Regions from separate parts of the Homo sapiens genome. Here regions 1 and 3 are each linked to region 2. The links are contacts of gene promoters, found by promoter capture Hi-C in blood cells and fetal thymus (Javierre and others, 2016). All regions are on one chromosome and are shown on one strand. The core of a region is centred on a gene start or on the middle of the fragment in contact, and the rest is flanking DNA. Distances in the headings are between cores, read along the strand shown. Region 1 overlaps KAZN (kazrin, periplakin interacting protein). Region 2 holds the start of TMEM51-AS2 (TMEM51 antisense RNA 2). Region 3 holds the start of CELA2A (chymotrypsin like elastase 2A).

Region 1 (3,783 bases), core at 1,131-3,630, 430 kb after region 2:
TGTATGTACTTTTTTTTTTTTTTGAGACAGAGTCTCGCTCAGTCCCCCAGGCTAGAGTGCAGTGGCGCGATCTCAGCTCACTGTAACCTCCGCCTCCCAGGTTCAAGTGATTCTCCTGCCTCAGCCTCCAGAGTAGCTGGGATTACAGGCACGTGTCACCACGCCCGGCTAATATTTGTATTTTTAGTTGAGACAGTTTCACCATGTTGGCCAGGCTGGTCTCGAACTCCTGACCTCAAGTGATCCTCCCACCTCAGCCTCCCAAAGTGCTGGGATTACAGGCATGAGCCACCACACCTGAACCTACTATGGACCTCTCTGATCCTGACCCCCATGGAACTCTCCCTACTCCTGGCCTCTTCATGCCTGCGACGCACCACTCTGGCCCACACACAGTGCAGCTCAGCTCTTCCTCCCATATTTCAAATCCACCAAAGCAAAGATCTCAAAGGCGGCACATCTTATGGGTCTATTCACTGGTGAGTGCAGGAGCATCTGTTTGACCAGACTCACTACCAGGTGCCAAGTGCAGTTACAGAGAGGAGGAAGTCTCCGTCTCTGAGCCGTGGGTGCTTGTACAATCCAGGCAGGCAAGACACACACTGAACCCTGGTGACTCCAGGGTCACTTCTACATCCCTGGCTCCTGCCACCATGGCTGTCCACAGGACAGGCTCAGCAAATGGGTTTTGAACTGTGCTCAACAGCTAAGACAGAAAGTGACAAAGCAATTCAAAAGCAAGAGTGTTTGCATCTTGCCAGATGGGGTGATTCAAAGAAACATCATTGGAGCTGACACTTCTTGGGAGTTTTGGTAGGCAGGGATATCACAACAAGCGAGAAAAAGCACAGGGAGAGAAACCTCCAGGCTTATTGTCCCAAGACTGCAGCACAGAGAGGCGAGATTGGTTATTGCTGGCGGATGAACTGACTCATTGGTTTTTTTTTCATTCGCTCATTCCTTCATTCATTCAAGCACGTACGCAAGAATGCACTTAGTTAATCCAACAAGTATTTATTCAGTGCCTGAGTCATCTCTGGCATATGGTAGTTGCTCAATGAATGAATAAGCTTCTATTTTGTGCCTGCTGTGCTCTTAAGTGGGAGGGACACATTCATGAATAACACAGACCTAGGCAGAGTCCTTGCCATCACAAAGCCTGCAATCTAGCAGCTTCTTCACAAATATTTATTCAGTGCCTACTATGAGCCAGGCCCTCTTCTAGATGCTGGGAACAGGCAGTGAACAGGACGGACAAGGTCACTGCTTTCCTGGAGCTGACATTATAGCAGTTGGAGAGGACCCCACTCACAGTTCCTCCTTTCGTTTGTTCTGTTCATCCAAAGTTGGAGGGAAGTGCTGTCCACACTGGGACAATTCCAAAGGGGGAGGAATCTTTGCTTGGGGATGGTTCTATTTTTCTGTATAGCCATTTCATAGTATCAAGAAGGTGAATGTGGCTTCCCACAAGGAAAATCCTAAACAAAACAAAAAACAACCCAAAAAAAAACAACCACAAGAGAGAAGCAACATTGAATTGGTTAACAGAAAGGGAATATTTGGATTCTGGCTCAAACATCAAGGTTGAGATGCATTTCAGGGCCCCTCATCAGTTTCTCATAAAACATGCCACCAGAATGGAATTTTATCAGAGTTTGCTATTGTTTAATATGCCTTGAAAGAGTTTTTGTCTTCAAGGGGCCATTCTGGAAAGCTGACACTTGAGTGGGGAGTGAGAACCTCTTGGCTATGAAGCTCAGCAGGTCTTGAAACCCCGGGGGGAAGTGCCCCTTCTCCCTCCCTCTCCTTTTCAGTTCAGCAAGTAGCTCAGCCTCATGTAAGAGAAAAATAAAAAGATACTAGTTCAATCAAAGTAAAACTGTCACACGCTATCCTGACCTTTTCAATATGTAAATAGTTGTGCTCTCAAATTTCAGGACCTGATGGGAGATTCTGACAGACATTCCCTTCCAGGAGGCCCAAGAGAAGAGGCTGGAACTGTTAGAACTCTAAAAGCCAACAAACCCAAGAAAAAAACTGTAGGTCTCTGGGTCTCCACATGCCCATGGGATTTGCCTGAGCTGAGGCAACCATAGCCACCTGTGCCACCAGCTGCCCCCTCCTCTAGCATCCTCATGCCCGACATTGAGCAACTGTGTGCTTCAGGCATGGTGCTGGGTGCTGGGGAGGCAAAGATGGTCAAGATAGAGTTCCTCTTCTGGATTATGTCACAGGGGAGAAAGACAAGTCCATTTATTCATGCACGCATTTAAAAGTGAAGCACCAATCATATTCAGGCCTCGGATGCAGAGCAAATAAACGACCCGCTCCAGCAACTTGGGACAAGTGCTTGGTCAGCACACAGGACCTCCATGGTAGCACAAGGGAGAGAGTGAGGGCATGATCCTGCCCCAGCTGCCTGGAGGCTGCACCCCCAGAGAAGCATGTTCAAAGCACAGAGCTCCTTCCCACTCCCCTCCAGGTCTGTGAACAGAGGGCAGGACCTGCCACCCCCACAGGCACCATGGAGGGAAAGTGTCTGTCATTCCCCAGGAAACGATAAAACTGAATTTCCAAATGCCCTGTTATTCCTACAGTTAGTAATTGGAATCCCCAAAGCCCAGCAAAGGTGGAATCTTTCCTGTTTGGGGGCTGGCAAGAAGGAGGGCTAAAGGAATTCCAGGCAAAGGAAGGAGAATGAACAAAGAGCAAGAAATCAAGAGACCCTCTTGATCCCAGGAATGGCCCAAGGTGCAGCTCAGAATCACAGCAGTAGAAACCTGAGATGGGAGTGCGGGCGGCCAGAGCGGGAGAGGTCTGTGGGGCTCAAACCACGCCAAGGAGACAGGAGCTATAGAGGGATTTAAAGAAGGAGAACCATACAATGTAATTCATTTTTTTGGGGGGGCGGAGGCAGAGGATAGGATGGAATTGGGGTGGGCGAGACTTTTAGCAAGGCAGCAGTTGGCAGCTGTCATAATCCAGAGAAGAGAAGTGGGCACATATAATAGTGAAGAGGAGACAAGGACCAAAGGTGCTAAAGGAAAAAGCATCATAGTTTGTGCATGGGACTGGATGTCAGGATGACATTTGACTGGAAGTCAAATTCCACTCCCTCCACCAAGTTTTCTCTGCATCGGTTTAGAGGCGTCCTGCCCAGAAACACAGCCTGTGCATCTGGGATTGCAGCTCCCCGCACAGCACGGTGTCTCTGGAGCTCTTACGTGTCATACCACGGTTGGTTCCCTGAGCTCCAGGGATGTCTAAGCCACAGCTGCCTGTGGAGGGACCAATTTGCCTCCTAGGGGCTGCAGGGTATTTGCCACAGCCCCAGCACACACTCGGCTTGGGTCTGATCCACAAAAACCCCGCTTTGCAAGGCAGATGGTCCCTTGTTGACTGCAGATGTATCCAGGTGCCTCCTAGAAAGGAAAGGACTCCTTCTTTCCCCCGTTCTCAACTGCTCAGCAAATGCCCCAATAAACCAGAGCCAAAAGGATTCAGGGTGACATTTCCCACTGAAGAATTGCTCTGAATCACGAAAATAATTCTCCTTTCTGCTTGTAGAAATCCCAGAGCAGATACAAACCCTCCTGAAGGGTGCAGATGAATTCCTCGCAGGCTCTCTGTTTGCACGTGGGCAGACAGATCAACATTTTTTTATTCTAAGTGAGGAAATTCGAAGCTTTCCACTTTTTTTGAATCCGTCATTCCTTTGGCTGGGCTGACTTGACCCGTTACCACAGTTAGTTCTCCAGTTTGAACTTCAAACAATACAAAAAA
Region 2 (3,680 bases), core at 953-3,452:
AGACACAAAAAGAAATTCATAGAAACGTTCAGCATGTGGCAAAATGTCCAAGATTCCAGGTTGAAGAAAGGGTGTTTTTAGATAAACAGAACTAGAAGTTGAAAGGCTCTTCTTTGACAGATGAATTTTGTTTGTGTTTTTTTTTTTTTAGATGGAGTTTGTGAAATTTGCTTAAAGAAAAAATAAACAGATGATATTTATGTAAAACAATGCCTGGAATATGAACTGAGACTCTAAAGACTTTAAAGCAAGTCTAGTTTTCATGATGGCAGGAAAACAATCTGTGTTAAGAATACTATCAGGTTGGCCAGGCGCAGTAGCTCACGCCTGTAATCCCAGCACTTTGGGAGGCTGAGGTGGGTGGATCACTTGAGGTCAGGAGTTCGAGACCAGCCTGGCCAACATGGTGAAACCCCGTCTCTACTAAAAATACAAAAAATTAGCTGGGCGTGGTAGTGTGCGCTTGTAATCCCAGCTACTCGGAAGGCTGAGGCGGGAGAATCGCTTGAACCTGGGAGGCAGAGGTTGTAGTGAGCCGAGATTGCGCCACTGCACTCTAGCCTAGGCAAAAGAGCGAAACTCCGTTTCAAAAAAAAAAAAAAAAAAAAAAAGAATATGATCAGGTTAAACCCCAGATTCCTAAGCAGAAAGAGGAGATGCTGGGCCCATCTGACCTACTCCCTAGGCATGTCCAGGCACAACTATTAACTGGATTAAGCACAATAATATTTCACCTGCCAGAAGTTTATTACACATGGCCTCATTCGGTTCCCACAACCCTCCATGAAAAAGGTAGGCATTGAGCCCATTTAACAGCTGAGTACATATCCTCGGGGGATACGTTCCAAGACCCCCAGTGGATGCCTGAAACAACAGACAGCACCCGACCTTACACATAACGACGACGTTTTCTGATCTGATAACCCAGACCGCTCCTAAGTGACCAATGAGCAGGTAGTGTCGACAGCACCCATCTGCTGGACAAAGAGACGATTCACGTCTGGAGCAGGACAGAGTGGGACAGTGTGAGATTTCATCACACTACTCAGAATGGGATGCAATTTAAAACTTATGAATCATATCTTTCCGGAATTTTCCATTTAATATTTTCAGATTGTAGTTGGCTATGGGTAACTGAAACAGTGGAGAGTGAAATGATAGAAAAGGAGGAACTCTTGTAGACAATATAGGATCATAAAGGGTTAAGTCACTTGCTCAGGATCACAAAGCTGGCACGTGGTGGAACCAGAATTCTAACCCGTGGCTGTCTAGCCCCAGAGTTCACTTACTTTCTCTTTTCCTTTTTCTTCTGTCTCTGTCTCTCTCTCTCTCCTTCTTCTCTTTCTTTTTTCTTCTTTCTCTCTCTCCTTCCTTCCTTTCCATTCTTTTCTTTCCTCCCTCCCTCCTCCTTCCTTCCTTTTTTTTTTTTTTTTTTTTTGAGACAGGGTCTCACTCACTCTGTTGCCCAGGCTGGGGTGCAGTGGCACAATCTTGGCTCACTGCAGCCTTGACCTCCCAGGGTCAGGTGACCCTACCACCTCAGCCTTCCAAGTAGCTGGGACTACAGGCACGTGTCACCATGCTCCACTAATTTTGGTATTTTTTCTTTTTTGCAGAAATGGAGTTTTGCCATGTTGCCCAGGCTGGTCTTGCACTCCTGGGCTCAAGCGATCCACCTGCCTCAGCCTCCCAAAGTGCTGGGATTACAGGTGTGAGCCACTGTGCCTGGACAGAGTCCACTTTCTTTTCCATACTTCAGAAGTTTCAAACGTGGCTGGGTATGTTAATCAGCTAGAGAGCTTGTTTGAAAATCTGATTCCTGAGTCCCACTGCTGAAGTCTGACTCGGCAGGCCTGGGCTGGGGCCTGGAAATCTGCTTTTATTAAGTTCTCAGCTGATGATCTGAGCAAGGGGTTGTTGGGATGGACCACATCTGTTTCTGCTAGAAGGTCCTGTCAAGAGAGTCAGGGAACGCCCAGCAGAGCCCCAGAAACCACCTGTGGGTTCAAGGAGGAGGTTCCGCGGCAAGGACTGATTGATCAGCTGTGGTAGTTCCTGCTGTGCGGGCTTGGTTAAGCTGGAACTACTTTTCCCAGAATCCCCTTCTCTGACTGGTTCTGGGTTATAATTGGTCAAAAGAGGAATCTGTGGAAAGCTGGGAGATGGAAGTGAAGCAGCGACCATTACACTTTAGAGGTCATCATGATTGGATGAGGTGAGAGACAGCCCCGTGGGTTCCAGCACATTCGAGCCTGTCCTCCATTCTGCATCCAGCTCTTTCTCCTGACTGCTGGTCCTGTTAACCAACAGCAGCCCAGGCCCCCCCGCGGACACTTGGCTGGGGATGGACCAGACAACGGCTGGCTGTAGACTTCTCCACCAGTTTGCCCGTGTACCCAGGGCCAGGTGGCGATGCCCCTGGTCCCCGGCAACTCTTCCACCTTCCTTTCTGCCGCCCCCCCTATGAATGCATAAGAACTAATTCCTATAACAAACCCCTTATCTCATAGGTCATAGAAGTTTGGCTTCTCTCATTGACCTGGAAGGATGCCGTCATCCACTCTGACCTGCAAACCTTTTGATCTCAAACAGCGATCTTCCAGGCGTGGCCCCAAATCAACAGCATCAGCGTCACCCAGGAGCTGGTTAGAAATGCAAATCCTGGGGCCCCACTCAGACCTACTGAATCAGCAACTGGGGGTGGGGGATGTGGCGGGGGGTGGAGGAGGAGGGAGGACCCAGCAATCTATGTTTTAACAAGCCCCCCACCCCAGAGGATTCTAACACAAGCTGAAGATGGAGAACCACTCATGCAAGCATTTAGAAAACCTGCCTCTAGGGAGGCCGAGGCGGGCGGATCATGAGGTCAGGAGATCGAGACCATCCTGATTAACACGGTTAAACCCCGTCTCTACTAAAAATACAAAAAATTAGCCAGGCGTGGTGGAGGGCGCCTGTAGTCCCAGCTGCTTGGGAGGCTGAGGCAGGAGAATGGCATGAACCCGGGAGGCGGAGCTTGCAGTGAGCTGAGATCGCAACACTGCACTCCAGCCTGGGCGACAGAGGGAGACTCCGTCTCAAAAAAAGAAAACCTGCCTCCATTTCTGTTTGGGATGATGTAGTAGTTCTGGAAAAAAGACAGTGGCGATGGTCACACAGCACTGTAAATGTGCTTAATGTCCCAGAATTGTACACTTAAAAATGGTTAAAATAGGCCAGGTGTGGTGGTGACTCACGCCTATAATCCCAGCACTTTGGGAGCCTGAGGTGGGCAGATCACTTGAGCCTGGGAGTTTGATACCAGTCTGGGCAACATGGCAAAACCCCGTTTCTACCAAAAAATACAAAAATTAGCCGGGCGTGGTGGTGCGCACCTGTAATCCCAGCTACTCAGGAGGCTGAGGCAGGAGAATCGCTTGAAACTGGAAGGCGGAGGTTGCAGTGACTCCATCTCAAAAAAAAAAAAAGATAAAAAAAAACCCAGCAGTATCCCAGGCACCTAGCTTTACCTTGCCCTGCAGCAGAGGGCCGGGGGAGAGGAGGGAAAGGAGGAAGTTGGCTTGCTCATGGGTCTGTACTCCCAGGCATTCTGAGATAAAGCCCCACGACTCTCAGGTGTGTTTGGCTTGGATTTGGAATGGACTTACTAGAATGGAAAGATTTTCAAAAATAATTATGAC
Region 3 (3,706 bases), core at 204-2,703, 290 kb before region 2:
TATATGAAAAAGACAGTTAAGAACTCAAAAAATTGTTTACATAGTCTAAGATAAAATCTTTACTATATATATATGATTTAAAATAATTTCTTTATAACCAACTTTTCAATTACTCGGTCCCAATTACATCAGATAAATGAGATTTCACTATATTTGTTTATGTCAATGTAAACTTTACACATTTCTCTTAAAATCCCCACCATTAACACGTCTGAGTAATTTACACCTGTGCCCCACTTGGCAGTTTAGTCTTGATACCACTATGATTATATCAACTTAAGAAAACATTTTTTTCATTGGTAACATTGATTTGCCTGTGGTTAAAGATTAATCTGCGCAAATAGCACTGATTGGTTCCTTAAAGCAAGGAATGTTTGCATAGGTAGTCTTGAATGGTTCCTAGACTGATGGTACATTTGTAAACAAGCCTCTGATTGGTTAATAGAGTAATACTATATTTGCTGCCTATGGGCAGTGGGGAGGGGACAGCTCCTTACTGCAGCTGGAGGAGGCACCTCTCCCTCCACTCCCAAGGTTGGCCAAGGCCACAGAAATGTATCTTTTTTTTTTTTTTTGAGACAGAGTCTTGCTTTGTTGCCCAGGCTGGAGTACAGTGGTGCAATTTCAGCTCACTGCAACCTCTGCCTCCTGGGTTCAAGCGATCCTCCTGCCTAAGCCTCCCCAGTTGCTGGGATTACAGGCGTGTGCCACCACACCTGGCTACTTGTGTATTATTAGTAGAGGCAGGTTTCACCATGTTGGCCAGGCTGGTCTCAAACTCCTGACTTCAGGTGATCTGCCCACCACAGCCTCCCACAGTGCTGGGATAACAGGCATGAGCCACTGCGCCCAGCCGGAAATATATCTTATTGCTAAAGTTGCCTGTGCTGCTCTCTGAGTCCCATCAATACTCACTTTGCCAGCACAATAGACGCCATGGTGGAAGGGCAAAGGGGAGATGTAAAGGGAGTGGGGCAGGGACGGGGAGAAGTACAGTGTGGTCAACTCACCTGCCAGGGCCAGCTGTTGGGCCTCGCTTCTTCACCGCCAACCACCCTAGTCACATAAGGTGGGTAAGTGGGGTCCCCACAACTGAGGGCTGTGAAAAGAGAAAGGGTCTTGAGTCAGGAAGCAGCGACCCACACAATGTAAACTACACTTGCTGCGCATTCTGACCCCCCAAATAGAAAACCCTTGTTCTAGAAGGATCCCAAGAGGTCATAGAATCCTGCTCTTTGCTCCAATTCTTTGAAACTCCATTCCAATGTTCTTATGATTATAGGTCTGAATGCAGTAGGGGTTGGGTGGGGGCGAGAGGGGAGGACAGGAAGATCCCATTTCCAGCCCCACCAGGGCATGGGAAACCAGTGCCTCTGGGTAACAGGACTTACCTCCAGCCACCAAAGTGGACAGCAGCAGCGTCCTTATCATGGTGTGTCCGTGGGAGTTCTGTAAGCGTGGCCCTGGATAAGGCCCTGGTTTTATGAGCGGACTTATCAGTGAGAGATACAGTAAGAGCACGCAAGATGGGGTTTTCTCAAAGCCCAGTGGAAAAAAGAGCTGTGTCCAAATATTTTTTTTTTCCCATTTCCTCCCAAATGTCACCCTAGAAATACTTTGAAAAAGATGCCAAAGGTAGATATTGGAATATGGGTTCCATCTGTTTTGAAGAGATTATGTTGTGTGTTAGGGAAGGAAGAAAAATACTAATTGTTGGTGCTCGGAGTTGTTTTTTTTTTTGTTTGTTTGTTTTTGTTCCCCTCCCTGGGTAAGACTGAGGAGAGGAGTTGTGTTTTCTTTCTTTCTTTCTTTCTTTTTTCTTTCTGAGATGGAGTCTTGCTCTGTCACCCAGGCTGGAATGAAGTGGCGTGATCTCAGCTCACTGCAACCTCTGCCTCCTGGGTTCAAGCAATTCCCCTGCTTCAGCCTCCCTAGTAGTTGGGATTACAGGTGTGTGCCACCATTGCTGGCTAATTTTTGTATTTTTAGTAGAGACGGGGGGTCTCATCATGTTGGCCAGGCTGGTGTCGAACTCCTGGCCTCAAGTGATCTGCTCGCCTCGGCCTCCCAAAGTGCTAGGATTACAGGCTGAGCCACCATGCCCGGCCAGGAGTTGTGTTTTCAATGAAAAGATTAAGGTGGCATGCTGAGCCCACAGCATTCTAAGGCAGTATTTCTCAATGGGGCTGGTTCAGCCCACCAGGAGACGTTTGACAACATCTGGAGAGAATTTTGGTTGTCATGGCTGGGGTTGATGTAAATTGGCATCCAGTGGGCAGGGAGCAGAGAGCAGAGACGCTGCTAAACACCCGACAATGCACTGGGCAATAGGACTCGCCCTGCCCCAAATGTCAATGGTGCTGAGACTGAGAAAGCCTGTTCTAGGCCATACCAGGGGTTGCAATGTGACCTTGGCTGAGTCATGTAAGTCTCTAGACCCATCTGTGAAACAGGGAGAGAAACCCATGCCCAGTATTGTTTCACAACATTGTGGTAAGGATTTGTATAATGTGGGGAAGGTGCACATGTAGCAGAATTTGCATAATGCGGGGAAGGTGCACATGTAGCAGAAGGCAAGGCCGACATGCACAATTAGGATCTGGCCACTCTAATGATGGGGGGAAGCAGAACGCTGGCAGAGGAGGGCTTCATCTGGTGGATGAAAATGCACTTTACGGCCGGGCACGGTGGCTCACTCCTATAATCCCAGAACTTTGGGAGGCTGATGCGGGCAGACCACCTGAGGCCAGGAGTTCAAGACCAGCCTGGCCAACATGGTGAAACCCCGTCTCTACTAAAAATACAAAAATTAGTAGCGTGTGGGGCTGCATGCCTGTAGTCCCAGCTACTCAGGAGGCTGAGGCAGGATAACCTCTCGAACCTTGGAGGTGGAGGTTGCAGTGAGCTGAGATCGCACCACTGCACTTTAGTTTGGGCAACAGAGCAAGACTCCATCTCAAAAAAAAAAAAAAAAAAGACCAGCTCCACACTCTTAAGACTTGATATCAAGTGTTTTTTTTTTTTTTTTTTTTTTTTTTTTTTTTTTTTTTTTGAGACGGAGTCTCGCTCTGTCACTCAGGCTAGGGCGTAGTGGCGCGATCTCGGCTCACTGCTACCTCTGCTTCTCAAGTTCAAGTGATTCTTCTGCCTCAGCCTCCCTAGTAGCTGGGACTACAGGCACCGGCCACCACACCCGACTTATTTTTGTATTTTTAGTAGAGACGGGGTTTCACCATATTGGCCAGGCTGGTCTTGAACTCCTCACCTCGTGTTCGTCCGCCTCGGCCTCCCAAAGTGCTGGGATTACAGGCATGAACCACCGCGCCCAGCCGAGTTCAAGTCTTTGATCCATCAATTTTGAGTGTGGTGGTCTGGACAAGCCACTTATCTTCTGGGCCTTACTTTCCTAGATAACCATCCAGGCCTGGATTGCAGGATTGTTGTACGGGTAAGAAAATGGGTGGGAAAGAATTCTGCAATCTCCCTAGGATGGTGCAAAGGTGAGAAAGATTGGGTGGGGGGCAGCATCCCATGGGACTGGATGTCAGAAGATGTAGATTCCAGTCCCAACTCCATCCCATAATCCCTGTAACAGTTTGGACTCATTTGTGGTCTGTATGAGTCACTACAGCAACCAACTATTTCTTAAGTCTCATATTTTATCTTAAAGGTTCATGTGAATTTGGCGTTCTGCTCTGTATCTTTG

What was found. The method cuts DNA at HindIII sites, captures the fragments that hold promoters and counts their contacts. A CHiCAGO score of 5 or more calls a contact.
Region 1: a contact is called between a fragment that was not itself captured here and the fragment with the promoter of TMEM51-AS2 in region 2, in 1 of 17 cell types (M1 macrophages). The highest score is 7.4, in M1 macrophages.
Region 3: the fragment with the promoter of CELA2A here is called in contact with the fragment with the promoter of TMEM51-AS2 in region 2 in 12 of 17 cell types (erythroblasts, activated CD4 T cells, monocytes and 9 more); the score reaches 13.0 in erythroblasts.

Annotation. Positions count from the first base shown.
Region 1 is chr1:14,739,670-14,743,452 of GRCh38, reverse strand. All of the region lies in intron 1 of KAZN (kazrin, periplakin interacting protein), which reads right to left. Among named protein-coding and RNA genes, the nearest start is that of KAZN, 140 kb to the right of the region's middle. RefSeq lists enhancers at 229-812, 813-1,397. The HindIII fragment of the contact is 2,615 bases long and covers 1,073-3,687 here.
Region 2 is chr1:15,170,146-15,173,825 of GRCh38, reverse strand. TMEM51-AS2 (TMEM51 antisense RNA 2) reads left to right here and starts at 2,202. Exons shown (of 3, transcript NR_167931.1): 1 at 2,202-2,215; 2 at 2,511-2,645. All of the region lies in intron 1 of TMEM51 (transmembrane protein 51), which reads right to left. RefSeq lists an enhancer at 1,513-1,682. The HindIII fragment of the contact is 7,186 bases long and covers 1-3,680 here.
Region 3 is chr1:15,454,479-15,458,184 of GRCh38, reverse strand. CELA2A (chymotrypsin like elastase 2A) reads right to left here and starts at 1,453. Exons shown (of 8, transcript NM_033440.3): 1 at 1,392-1,453; 2 at 1,011-1,099. The coding sequence starts at 1,431. The HindIII fragment of the contact is 8,750 bases long and covers 1-3,706 here.